Linked DNA regions of Homo sapiens: region 1 is linked to region 2. Evidence: promoter capture Hi-C in human tissues and cell types (Jung and others, 2019). All regions are on one chromosome and are shown on one strand. Each heading gives the region's core, a stretch centred on a gene start or on the middle of the fragment in contact. The rest is flanking DNA. Distances are from core to core; before and after follow the strand shown.

The links. Contacts are between HindIII fragments. The study calls those that stand out against the background at their distance.
Region 1: a fragment that was not itself captured here is called in contact with the fragment with the promoter of RNPEPL1 in region 2 in 1 of the 25 tissues and cell types used here (dorsolateral prefrontal cortex).

The regions. Positions count from the first base shown.
Region 1 is chr2:240,709,250-240,716,052 of GRCh38, reverse strand. KIF1A (kinesin family member 1A) reads left to right here. Exons shown (of 49, transcript NM_001244008.2): 49 at 1-2,286. Among named protein-coding and RNA genes, the nearest start is that of AQP12A, 21 kb to the right of the region's middle. RefSeq lists an enhancer at 3,332-4,139. The HindIII fragment of the contact is 6,199 bases long and covers 1-6,186 here.
Region 2 is chr2:240,564,161-240,571,076 of GRCh38, reverse strand. It overlaps RNPEPL1 (arginyl aminopeptidase like 1), which reads right to left and starts at 2,593. Exons shown (of 11, transcript NM_018226.6): 1 at 1,963-2,593. The coding sequence starts at 2,490. It overlaps DUSP28 (dual specificity phosphatase 28), which reads right to left. Exons shown (of 2, transcript NM_001370465.2): 2 at 5,821-6,916. RefSeq lists enhancers at 869-1,507, 1,457-1,636, 1,508-2,146, 6,097-6,176, 6,307-6,456 and silencers at 1,907-1,956, 2,197-2,386, 2,527-2,586, 2,617-2,876, 4,387-4,626. The HindIII fragment of the contact is 6,553 bases long and covers 665-6,916 here.

The sequences.
Region 1 (6,803 bases), core at 1,838-4,337, 140 kb before region 2:
CCCAGGACAGGACGGGGGTCAGCCCCAAGCTGAGAGTCTGGTCATAGGAGTCATGTCCAGAGGCCTAGGGAGGTTTTAGGGCCCTCCCCACCCACACCCACAGGTCGATTTGGTCTCTTTTTAGCTCAAGGAAAGACAGTAGCCAAGCAACAGAGCCCCTCTCCCGCCGTGGCCCGTGGGAGCAGTTACATCGGGTCTGGTGCTCCAGACCTAGGGCCCAGCACTTTCATCAGATCCTGCCTCCTGGAGTGGGGGAAACGCAGCACCCCACTGGTTCTGAGGCCCCTACCCTCCCAGGCTGTCCCACGTGATGCTGACATGAGCCTCAGAGACCCCAATCCCATGCCTGGGGGAGAGACAGCGGCTCAGGAGTGGGGGAGCACGGGCCTTCTACACCACATGGGAAGGCTCTGGCATGAGGTTTTCCTTTGGGAAGGTTGTTTGGGCCCCTGAAGTTCCATCTCCGAGAGTGGTGTGCAGGGCAGGCCAGGGCCCATGCTGGCTGCAGTCTCTGTGGCTGCCTGCCTGGGCCAGCCTGTTTGGGAGCTGGGACTGTGGGCTCGCCTTTTCGTACCTGGGCTCAGGTGCGGTGTGGCCACCGCCACCCTCATCCCCTGCCTGGGAGGCTCTCCCAGGGGCTGATGGGGGGGTTCTGTGAGGGAGAATCAGGGCTCGGGAAGCCACGCCTGGGAAGGCAGGACACAGGACACAGCAGCTTTCTTTGGAAATCTCCCAGGTGAGGATTCACATCCCAAAATAAAATTCAGAAGCCAGGTGGCCTGTGCTCCCCATGGGTGACCTCTGGAGGCAGTGGACCAAGATGCAGCAAGGAGAGGATGCAGAACAGCTTCTTGCAGAAGCACCTGCTCCGGCATCCAGCGCTGCCTGGAGGCAGGAAGGAGAGGCAGGGCAGGACACGCTGGTCTGAGATGAGGGGGAGCCCCACGGGCCCCAGGCAGGCTAGAGGAGGCACAGGCCCTGCCACGGCCAACTCAGGTCAGCCAGCCTGAGGCTGTGGCCTCCAAAGGGTCTGGGCGCACCCCCCAGGTCGCAGGTGTCTGAGGCCAGCCAACCTGCAGAGCACTCGCGGCGTGGGTGGGCTGAGTGGAGGTGCCTGGGAGCTGCCTAAATTCAGAAGCCTCCACTGCCATGGAGACTGCCTGGCTGTGTCCTCTCAGCCAGGTGCCGTGTTGGCCTTGGCTAGGACCCAGAGCCACACTGCAGCCTCCGCCGACTCCCTCCTTCCGGGCCTGCTCTAGTGAGGAGTGCCTAAGCCAGGACCCAGAAACTCAGAGTTGATGGTGAGAGGAGGCCGCCTGAGTCAGGACACCTGGCTTCTTGAAAAGTTCGCTCTGCCAGAAACCACCTAGGGACCACGTTAGCTGCCTTCCTTGAGCTCCCCAGGAGTCGGTTTCCACATCTGTGAGGTGGAGGGCTGGTGTGGAGGTGCTCATGGGGTGCGGTGCTTGGGAGACAGCCAGGCCCAGGGTGGCTGCTGCTTCCTGCTAAGTGGGGGAGGTGAGACAGATCTGGAAAGCCGTCTCCCTCAGATGGTTTCATTTAATGCTTTATACTGCCGAGTCTGGGGGCTTGTTTTGGTTTGGGGGCAGCCATCCTCCACCAGAAAGGGGGAGCTCCTTCCGCTGCGGCTCCAGATAGATGGGGATGCCGGGCTCCAGGCCGACCAGCACTTGGGATCTGATGGGACACGGCCAGTGCCTAGGGGTGCCAAGTCCAAGGCCTCCCACTGGGAGTCATCGCTGAGAAGATGCCAATGTTTCATCCACCGGCTGCACAGGCACAAACTCCCCCACCCAGGACGGCTGTGATGAGGTGGCCCTCCCTGTCAACCCTGGTCCCTGGAGTCCCCAGCACCTGGGGCCCTGGTGGGGCTGATGTCACAGGTGTTTACTGTGCTGCTGCACTGGTCCTATGCCAGCCTCACCCATGTGGGGACCACGGAAGGCACACTCCCTTACCCCCGGTGCCGGGCCGTGCGGTCCCCCAGACGGACAGCAGCTGTGGCGACCTGCGTTTCTCCCTGGGCCTGTGCTTCCTGTAGTTAGTCCGTCCCCTGGTTCCCCTGTGGCTCAGAGGCCGCGTCCCTGGCTTGTACATATGTGATTGCTGTGGGCACACCCCAGACCCCATGTCATAGCTGCCGTCCCGACGTCACGACGCCTGTCCCGATGTCTTACACCCGAGTGTTAGCCCTAGGCTCCTGTACTGTGCGTGCACTTGAGGCTCTGTCCAATTAAGAAATAAATGTGGCTCTTACTCAACACAGTCCCATGGGCTCTGCTGTGGCTTTATTTGCGTGTTACGTGTGTTGCAGGGCCCCGGAAAATGGCTGTAGGTGCATGCATCCAGCGTGGTCCAGAGACAGTACCCCTCTCCCAGTGATGAGGCAGGGAGGGGCTGGCTCTCGAGGTGGGCATGGGGAGGTGGTGGGGAAGGTGTCGAAGACTGAGTGTACACAGGGTGCTGGTCTTGGAGGATCAACCTCCACCTGCCTCCCGTGACCGGTTGCACCCCTGTGAACCAGCCCCAGGCACCTCCCCAGGGACACAGCACCTACCACCCTCATACCAGGCCACTGCACCCATCCCAGGCAGCCTCAGGCCTGGACCCTTCAGAGTCTCTAGTCCATGGGGTCTGCGCCTGGGCCCAGATCCTCAGAGCCTCCTGGAGTTCCAGAGGCCGCACCATTGCACACGAGGGCCTTAGTCTTGTCCAAGGTATGGCAGGAGTTTGTGGACCAGCGTCACACTGATGGCCGATGGGAGGATGGGGTGACAGCCTTGCACTTTGGGGGACTCTGGGCAGGGCCCCCAGTCCTTAGGAGCCCCCAGGCCCTCCAGAGGTGAGTGGCTTTGTCACAGGCGACAGCCATCTCCAGGACATTCAGTGAGGGTGGCACCTGCTCGGAAGGCAACGCCTCTCAGTGGGCCTGGGAGGTGGACCCTACTGGCTGGCACGGGGGCTCCGGGGCCTTGTGTGGGGCCACCCTCTGGCTACAGGTGGGAGGGGCTGTGTCAGGGCTGACATAGATACCGTTCAACCTGTGTGGACTCCTCCTGTCTGAGAGGTCGTAGTCTTCCAGTCCTGAGATTATAGACAGAACTTTTTGCCAGCTGGGTGAAGGGCGCACACAGTTCCTCTCTGTGCTGTTTTTTTTTTTTTATAACTTCCTGTGAGCCTACCATTATTTTAAAATGAAAAATAAAGAAAAAACCTTTTTATTCATCGGATTTTCTAGTTTCTCTACAATGAATTTGTGTTACCCGTGTAATTCTTTAAAAATTAAGAGTGAGAAGCAAATCAAACCAGAATTCAGTGACTGGGCAGAATCATAGCGGCCTCCTCACTGGTTGAGGAGGATAAATGAGTTAGCTTTGGAAAAGGCGTAGGACGGGGCCTGACACAGACTAAGTGCTGTAGAAGGTTTCTGTTTTTTAAAACAATGAATGAAACTAACAAAACATTAAGTAACAATTGGCTGTGCCTTCCAGTGTTAAGGAGAAACCTGTCGCTACCTCTGCTTCCACCTGACCTTGTTCTTGGGGCCCCAGGGATGACACCCATCGTCCGAAGGTTCTGGAAGACGAGGGAGTAGAACCAGGAGTGTGGGCTGAGTGGCGCTGGGCTTTCATGGTTGGTGCCTTCCACCAGCGGTGTGACCGGGCTCTGGGACCTGGGACCACTTCTGTGTCCAGGGCAGTGCTAAGCTGGGCACGGTCATCCTGTGCCCTGTGGGGCCTGGTTCACACTCCCCAGCTGCACTCTCTCCTGGCTGGGATGGTCTTTCTGTCCATGTTGGTGCCTCAGTGCAGCCCTGGCTGGTGGTTCTCTGAGGCCTGGGAGCCATTCAGACCCTTTTGATGCCTGCAAGTCTCTGCTGCCGTCCAGCGAGGGCTGGTGGCACAGTGGACTCACACGGACAGACAGACTCACGTCTTAACTCAGCAGATGGCCACTGTCACTCCTGCACTGGGGGCGGTCCTTTAGGGGTGTCGACTAAAGCTTTCACAGCCTCCAGGATGTGTAGAGGGCAGAAAAGCCTGGAAGCCCCAGCCTTGAGGACAGAGTCCACCCCTGTGCAGACAGCCAGTGATAACCCAACCCAGTCCCCAGGGAGAGGTGGCCCGTAATGCACCTGGCTCCCTTCTGCTCCAGCCTCCTGCCCATCTTGACACCTCCTGCTGCTGCCCCAAAAGCCTGACTTGGCCCAGGGCCCCTCCTGTGTCCCCTGTGAGCTGGAGTCTGAATGCTGAGTCCAGGCCCTGGGGAGGCTCCCTAGCTCCTGCCTGTGCGGCAGATCCTGAAACTGAGGCCCAGACCCTGAGATGGTTCCAGAACCCTGGACTGAACCTCACTGGCCCATCCAGCCTGTGCTCTCCTCTCCCCAAGACCTTAAGGCTGGCTCCGTGGAGCCTGGAGCAGACCAAGCCACAGTGTGGGTGTCTGGAGGCTCACGTGTCCATTGGACGCGTTGTGTCTCTGGGGAGCTGAGCCCCGGCCTTGGGGACACCCAGACAGGATCCAGCAGATTCCTCATCCTACTGGGGTGACACCCATTGGCCAGTTAGACCCAACTGGACCCAGGGCCAGAGGGGCGCAGGCATGTCCTGTCTACAGTCCAGGACGCAGGAAGCAGGGACTTAACCCCTCACCCCCGTGGCCTTCTCCTCTCCCTACCAACCACCACCTGGAGCCCGCCAGGCCCCCAGCCAGGAGATCTTGACTTTATAGGTGTGTGGGGTGTCAGAGGATCCCACTGCACAGCAAATGGTATTTCCCAAGAAGAATTCCCATGAGCTGCCCCTCTTCCCCGCAGTGTGGGCTTCCAGGACCTGGCCTGAGAGCACCCCCCAGCTTCCTGCCTGCTCTGCACTCCACACCTTCCTCCTCTCGTGTGTGGAGTGAATTGGTGCTTTCCTGATTCTTCCAAACTGTACTTTCCAGTACAGTAAACAACAGAGCGACATGGGTCCTTACACATGAAACCATGCTCTTATCCTACTTTTGGGGACAAAGTCCTAGCTGGAATTACTGTGTGGGAGTTTATATAAATTCATATGTGCATCTTACGTGTGTGTGTGTGTGTGTGTGTGTGGCACGCGTGTGCACACATGTGCGCACACACACACACGGCTTCTGAACATAAAGCCCATCATCGTCTCACTGCATGTCTGAGTCTTTTTAGTCCTCCCCCTTTGGCAGGTGGTAAGTGGCACCTTATCATTTTTCAATTTTATTTATTAGTGTTGCTAAATTATTTTCATGTGTTTTATATATATATATATATATATATATATATATATTTTTTTTTTTTTTTTTTTTTTTTTTTTTCTGAGATGGAGTCTCACTCTGCCGCCCAGGCTGGAGTGTAGTGGTGCAATCTCAGCTCACTGCAACCTCCGCCTCCAGGGTTTAAGTGATTCTCCTGCCTCAGCTTCCCGAGTAACTGGGATTACAGGTGCCTGCCCCCTCACCTGGCTATTTTTTGGATTTTTAGTAGAGACAGAGTTTCACCGTGTTGGCCAGGATGGTCTTGAACTCCTGACCTCAAGTGACCCACCCACCTTGGCCTCCCAAAGTGCTGGGATTACAGGCGTGAGCCACCGCGCCCAGCCAGATTATTTTTATTTCTTTTGTGACTTGCCTATTATGTCTCTGGCCAAATTTTCCTCTTAATTTGCAGTCAGTTACACATATATCAGATAGCTCATTCCTTTGTCATATGTTTTAATTTTCTAACTTTGTAATTTTTCTGTTTTGATAATATTTTATTTTGCCTTATAAAATTATGTTGAATATCTTTTAAAGTCAAATATAGTTTATTTTTCAAAATTTCTAATCTTGGGCATTTTGCAGAAAAGAATTAGCCCAACAGGCTTGCACCTGCTATTCTTTAAATGTCTGCTGTGAGGTGGAGCCTCAGACGGCTTCTGGGAACTTGGCACTTGAACTGTTCCCTGAATGACAATGAGGGTTCACTGTGCCCAGACTGTACAAATACTATAGCCCTCGATGCACTTTCCTTCTGAGTCTGGAGTTTGGTGTGTTCCAGGCAGGGCATGGCCAGCTTCTGGTCAACACCACAGGCACTGAGTCTCTACTGAGCTCCCCGACGGGGAGCCCTTAATATGGACGGCCATGCAGCGTTGCTGGGAATGAAACACGTCCTGTGTTACTCTGTGGGGAGAGAGGCCTTGGAAGCACGAGCCTGGTTTTCTTCACACCACGCCCCATGCCTTTTGCACCCCATGCTTTTTCCGTTCACAGATGTGGTTTCAGAGCCTTTTGCCGTAACCAGTCTCAGCCATGGCACCACTGTATGCTAGATCCTGTGCATCCTTCCAGAAAGTCTCTGAACCAGGGATGACCTTGAGGACTTCATGATACAAGAACACACTTTGAAACTCCTTTCCCATTCATTTCACTTATCTCTAATAGTGATTTCATTTATGTCATCAAATAATTAACCTCTCTCGCATGATATGACCATGTAGAGTTTACTCTGGGAATGAAGAGGTCACTTCATATCAAGAAATCTATTAATAAAATCCATCATATCAATAGAGCTAAGAAAAAATGGTCATCACCACAGATGCAGAAAAGCTAGGAACAGAGCAGAACGGCATGCTAGCATCACCACTATTCAATGGCGTTTTGAATTACTAGCTAATTTCTTTACACAAGAGAAAGTAATCAGAGGGATAAAAACAGAGAAGGAAATGTAAAAATTATCTCTTTTGCAGATGATAGAATTACATATCTGGAAATCCCAAAAGAATCCA
Region 2 (6,916 bases), core at 1,344-3,843:
GTATGAAGGAACCTCCCTGCAGGAGTCTCCCCAACCCTTCAGCCTGCACGGCCCCCTCACAACTACTCCTCTCCTGTGGCCTTGCCTCACCCTCCTGAGGCCCTTCTCAGGCTCTGCCCACTCACACCTCTCCCTACTGCCCCATGTCCACCCCACAGCCTCAGTAGCCTGGGTGTCTTCCCAGATACCAGCAGGGCCCACAGCTCCCCACTTGCCCTGAAGTGAGGGGCTGGGGCAGACCCCCAGACAGGACAGGCCCTGCCCCACAGATGGGGCACCAATCCCCGTCAGGGCACCCGGGCACAGGTGCTGATGGGCTGGTGGAAAAGGAACAAGGCTGAAGGGCTCCAGACGCTGCAGGGCAGGAAGAACGCTGTTCTTGCTGGGGTGGGGTGGGGGTGCGGGAATGGGCCCAAGCATCTGCAGCACCTCCAAAAAGCCTCTGGGGGCCTGGGGCCCACTGGCAGGGCCTCCCAGGGAGCTTCCGCTGCATCCTCCCTGGCACAGGGACAGGCTTAGGGATTTGGGCCTGAGTCCCTGGAACATGCAGGAAGAGAAGGGGACTCTACGTGTGGCCCCAGCCCCATGGCGCTCACATACAAAGGTGCATGCCTGAGGTTAGAGTCGAATACTCTGCCTTCTGCAAGTAGGGCGGCTCACAGGCCAGGTGACGCTAGGCCCCCTGTCCACAGCCTGCCAACCCTGACACCACGCAGACTTGGGGGACTATGCCACTCTCCCTGCCCAGAGTACCCAAGGGCCACCCAGTAGGCCATAGGAAGCCAAGAGACAATGGCCACCCTTGCTCACTGGGCCCCGTTCACAGCAGCCTGCTGAGGGCCCTGGTCCGGCCACTCTGCAGGCCAGTGTTGGGCGGACCAGACACGTGGGCTCCAAACACGGATCAAGGCCAAGGAGAAGCCCATCCCTCAGTTCTCACCTGTCATACTGGGAGGCATACTTGCCACCGGTCAGAGCCCTGGAATACCACAGCAGGGGCGGGGCCGGCTAGCCAGCGGCCTGCACACCCACAGGGGTTCTGGGAAAAAGGTGAGGTGGCAGGTCCTGCTTAGGGCTCCTGGGAAATGTACAGGAAGCCCATAGGGGTGCACTGGTCTGGGTTCTTCCTGCCCAGATGTCACCTTGGCTCTTTGTGGCCTGAAGCCTCTCGACCACCTCTCCACCACCCTGTCCATTTATGTGCCGTGACCAGTGACAGCTGGACTTCCCAGCGCCTCCACAGCTGTGTGTGTCTTGCATATGTCGGGTGTCACATGTGTGCCGTCCATACCACCTAGGGATGCAGTATGAACCCCCATGCTGTAGGCAGGAAAGGCCCTGCTCCATCCTGTACACATCCCCACTGGTGGAGGTGGAGGGGGTGCTGCAGCCACAGCGCCAGCCTCAGCCACCTGGCCTTTCTTGCAGAGTCTCTGGAGTGGTGGGTACCCAGTGTGCAAGCCCTGCAGAGCCTATGTGTGTCTATGTTGGGGTCGCGGGGCCCACTGGTCTCAACACTCCACCAGTGCTGGCCAAGGAAGCCCCAAACCGAGCATCACAATCTCCATGGCCCTTTCCTCTGCCTCTGGCTTGGACTCATCTGCACGCACTGGTCACATGGAGGCCCTTCCGCAGCTGACACTCCAGCCCAACCCTTGGTGCCAGGATCCTGCAGATGTACACCTCGGTGGGTGACAGAAGCTGCTCATGTCCCCAGGCAGGGACCAGACACCTGAACGGGAGGCTTCCCGGAGTGACATGCTGTCCCGTGTCCCCGCAGGACTCCGGCTTCTATCCGAGGGTCCTAAGGGCTCACAGGCAACAGCTGGGAATCACCGGGGTGGGGGGAGGGGGGCACCTGTAGGGCGCAGATTCGCGTCCCTCAGCCTGGCCGTGCGGCGAGAGGCCGCTAGCAGCGCCCTGCGGACCGGCCCGCAGCCCCGGCGCCCGCCCCGGACTCACGGCGGGGGCGTCGGTCGAGGTGTACCGCAGGATGACCTGGAAGGGCTGGTGCGCCTGCAGCTCGGGCGGCAGCGTGACGGTGAGCGAGGAGCCGTAGTCGGTGAACGGGTCCACCCTGAAGGCCAGCGGACAGCAGGCGGGCTCGGAGCCGGGCGCCTCGGGGAAGGCGGGCAGCGGGGGCGGCGGCGCGGGCCCCGGCCCGGGGGCGGAGAAGGCGAAGGCGCAGGGCGTCTCGGCGGCGGCGGCGGGGGCGCGACGGAAGGCGGCTGAGTGCAGGCGCAGAGCCGGGTGCGCGTCGAGCACGAGCGCGCGGGGCGCGGGCCGCAGCGCGCACAGCTCGAGCACCAGGCAGCCGGCCAACTCGCGCGCCTCGGGCCGCAGCTCCAGGCCCAGCTGCAGGTGGCGGAGGCGGAAGAGCTGCGCGCTGGAGGCCGAGGCCACGTCCAGGGCGGGCGGCGGCTCGGGCGGCGGGCGGACGGGCGCGGCCTCGGCGCCGGGCGCCTGGCGGCAGCAGCACTGCGCGGCCATGGCCGCCGGCACTAGGTGAAATCCATGGGCGGCGGCCGCGCCGGGCCGCGGGCGAGGGGCGCCGGGCGGCGGCGGCGGCGGGGCGCGGGCACAACAGGAAGTCGCGCCGGGAGCCGCCCGGCCCGGCCCCGCGCCGTGCGCCGCCCCGCTCGGGCTCCGCTCGGCCGCCGCCGGGGGCGCTGTGCGCGGGGCCGGGGCGCGGGGCCGGGGCGCCGGGCGGGGAGGGCCAGGAGCCAGGGGCGCGGGGAGCCGGGGAATCGAGCGCGGCGCGGGGCCGGGGCGCTGTGTTGGGAGCCGAGGCGCGCGGAGCGGGTGAGCAGCACCCCCAGCCCCTCGCTTCCTCCCCGGGCGGCGCCCGGGAGATCCCAGGAGGCGGGATCGCTGCTCCCTCCCAGACACTGCCGGCCAGGCCCCTGGGGCAGCCGCTGAAGGGACCCGGGAACCTTGGGGCCACAGGGGCAGGCTGCTTCCAGGTGTGGTTCGTGTTCCCGAGGAGCGCAGCGTCGCGAACTCAATGTCATCCTTTCATCCGGGGCTACGGGCAGGGCAGGATTCTCCTGGCACCCCTGCCACTCCTCCAAGTCTACAGGTGTGGTCTGTGCTGTGGGCCCTGCGGTGCGAGAAGCGCCGGAGCCTTCACGCAGCGCTGTCAACTACAGCAGCCACCAACCACGTGTGGCCATTTAGATGCGAATTAAATACAGTTAGAAGTTCAGTTCCTTCGTGGCAGGTGGAGTGAGTGAGTGTGTGTGTCTTCCTGGGAGGAGTGGCTAATGGACAAAGCAGGCAGGAATCATTTCCACAATCGCAGAAGTTCCTCTGGGCAGTGCTGGGGACCTCTCATTTGGGAGCCCTGTGCTGGGGTACGAAGGAGGGTCTGGCCCGCCTGTCCCCACCCCATCCGCCAGGTCCACCCTTCCCAACGCCATTCTCTGTGGACCTGGCGAAGGCTGCCCAAGGCTGAGCCTGTCCAGGAGCCTGAGCCCCGAGGGAAGGGGTGCTCGCCTGGCAGAAGCTGCTAGTGAGCTCACAGCGGTTAAATTTTGAGGCTGTGGAATAACAGGGGCCACCATGATGTCGCTGTTGTCATCAAGTAAGAATTCAAATTCCTAGGGACAAGGGGCTTCTGGGGCTGGGGAACTATCCAGGAACCCAGGACACCTCTCTCTTCTGCTCCATTGAGGTGTGGCCGTGCAGGGCTGGACTCGGGTACCGCACTCGACTCAGCGTCAGCCCTGAGTAGTGTTTCCTGTGTCTGGACTCAGTCTCCTCGTTGTGTAACCCTCTGTGTCTACCCTCCTTCCGTGGGGCGGGAAGGAAGGCTGAGAGGGAGAGTGTGCGTTCACGTTTGCGGGACAGAGCACTGAGGCATCATTTCAGTTTTCCCGTAGGACCTCAGGTCCCCACGTGCCCTCTTTAGGGACACGGCCACGATCTTGGGGCACCCATCCCAAACTCACCAGGAACCCCTAGGCTTACACAGTCACTCAGAGGTGTGGATCAGCCTCGCATCCAAGGCTGACAGGGAAGACAGCTGAGATGGGACCCTCCTCACTGCCCCCAGCGCCCTGCCCGGTGGGGCCCTGCAGTGCCAAGGGCAGACTGTTTTCGATGGCACCCCCAGTTCTACGGGGCTCTCCAGAGCCCACCGGGCCATGTTCCTGGCTGGAAGAACCTCAGTTCTGCACACGCGGTGCCACACTAGCTGGGCCTGGCCGTCCGGGGGGCAAGTCACCACAGGGAGCTTGGGGTCTTGCCACCCAGAGCCCCGCATTGGGCTCAGGGAGCAGAGGTTGGGGTCTCGCCCTGGGCACCTCTCCGCGGCCAGTTCTGCACACAGGAGTCCAGAGTTGCTGTGGCACCTCCTCCCCGGGGGCCCAAGGGAGCGCCTCCCACCGCGCACGTATGTGAGGAGCTGCCCTACTGCACCCCATGGAGCGGGAGGCGCGGCTGAGCCGAGGGGGCGGGGTCTGCAACTGAGCCGCGGGAGCCTCTCGCGCCGGCCCCGCCCCGCCCCGCCCCGCCCGAGGAGGCCCCGCCCCCGCCGGCCTGACGCCCCCTGGCGGCGGGAGGCTACGCCGCATGCAGGCCTGGGCAGACACCTCTGACTTCTCTAACCCTGGCAGAGGAGCCTGGACGTCGCGACTGTCAGCCCTGGCTTTCTCCCACAGGAGTTTTCATACTCCAGCTTTTTGGTGATCAGCGCAGTGAAGTGGCTGCGCGGCATCTGCACCCCAGCCTTCCCCTGATGCACCCGAGGGAGGGGTTCCTGGCTTCACCCACTAGGAGGTGGGTGTGGGCATGGAGCGTTTTAGCAGGCTGGGGAGGGCAGCAAAGCTTCCAGGAAGAAGCAGTGTTCAGACAGGGCCGCGCCCAACCCCGACAGAGGACCAGGGAGCTACCAGTTCTCAGATGGAGCTGGTGGGCTAAAAAGGTCTGATGTGACCCACAGGTGTCCTTCAACCTGGCCGGGGCCCTGCTGCCCTTGTCCCCTTGTCACCAGGGCCAGGTCAGCAGGTAAAGGGTGTGCCCTGCCCTGAGGCAAGGGCAGCCGAGGTTTTCATCAGGGTGTTGTGAGCAGGGCTGAGCCGCGGGGGAAACCGCAGACCCAGGTCCTCCCTCCTCTCCAAGCCACTGTTCCTCACCCACTAGTGGCGACCGGCGGCTGCTTCCTTCCGGGTTGATGAAAAGGTTGCATGAGTCATGAGGAGCTTATCTAGAGAGGCCAGCGGCAGGCAAGCCCTCCACAGAGATGGGGACTGCCCTGGGCACCAGCTTGTGATGGGGGCCGCGGTCCACAGCGATGGGTGGTGCCGGCTGGTGACACGGCATAGAGGGGCAGCGACCAACAAGGTGTGGCCTATGCTTGAGGCCCAGGTACACAAGGCGTGGGGAGGGAGAAGGCCCTTCTCACTACCACCCCCACGCTTGGCTGACAAAACCCGTGCTTCCCATCCCCCCAGCTTTGGGCTCTGCCGCATCAGAGATGTTCGGTCCCCAGGTGGGATGCTTTTGCTTAGGAACACAATCGGGTCTCACTGGGAGGGTGGCTCAGACACGGCCCAGCCACGGAAGCATGAGACAACACAGGGCTGGCTCTGGCAGGTGGGCATGAGGCTTTGTGAGGCTTGGGGGCCAGGAAGAGTGGTGCCTCCTACTTCTCTCTGGTGGTGCAGTACAGGTAACGGAGGCCACAGCACCTGTGTGGGCAGCCATGCAGGGCCTGGGGCCTTAAAAATGAAGGATCGAGTCATGCCACCAGGTGAAGGCCATAAGCAGCTTAGGCACTGGCTGAGGGTAGAACATGGAACGAGTATTGGAAAAGGCAGATAAGCACCAACCACAGTATTTTACTCATTGACGCATACAGAATGTAAATACGCGTAGTTGTATATATTAACCAATGACTACGTTATCTGTGATTCACATGTATTACACACATTTTCCTTTTCTTTCCCCACTCCTATTTAAGGAGTGTTGATTCTAGGATAGTCTTTAGGCCACAGGATGTCCAGGAGAGGTGGTGTCTGAACTAGAGAAGGAATCAACATGCTTGGATGCCTCCAGTGGTGGCTTATGGGGTTCCACCCTCACACGGCGGGAGAGGCAGCACCTTGTTGGCTTGACAGTAGCTATGTGACCTTAAGTTGGGGTGCAATGTTGGTGAAACAGAGATCAAAGTAGGAGAGGGGTGCAGATGCTGGAGGCCTCCCGGGTTCCCTCACCAGGCCGTCTGTCAGCACAGCCTCCTTCTCCCCTGCCTGTCACAGGAGGGGCTTCCCATGTTCGGTGCCCAGATGAGACCAGTGAGAGGTCTGGGAGGTGGGAGGAAGGAGATGTACTGTGGCTTCAGCAGCTGGTGGGCAGGAGGCTCTGCTGGCAGCTCCAGGTGCCCTCCACAGCCAGGACATCAGGCAGTGGGGATCTGGGTGGCAGGTCCCTGTGACTCCCCTATGTCTCCTCTCCTGTCCTTGGCTCCCCAGCCTTCTTCTCCCTGCATTCAGTTTCTTTCTGCCCAGTTCCTTAAGTGGTTTAGATTTTCCTGACCAAGGCTTGTTTAATAAGCTGAGCTGACCAGAGGGAGAGGACGGAGCAGATGGTGGTGCAGGGGTCCATGTGGTCTGATGCGCAGACCCTTGCCCCACCAGCAAGAGGGGACAGAGACCCTCTGGAGCTGCATTTCCGGAAGATGGGGCTTAACTGGGAAAAATGAAAACTCAGTGTGGAGGCGAGTGCACTGGGCGGCCGTGGTGCCGTGGGACCATGGACCTCAGAGGGCACTGGTGGCAGGACCGCAGAGCGGGCCCTTCAGGCCACTTCAGGGCCACTGAGGTGGAGGATTCTCTTGTGAAGAAAGCAGTAGGAAGGATGGAAAACCATACTTCCTAGACAGGCATCTGGAGCAGTTTCAGTTTTGATTGCTGTT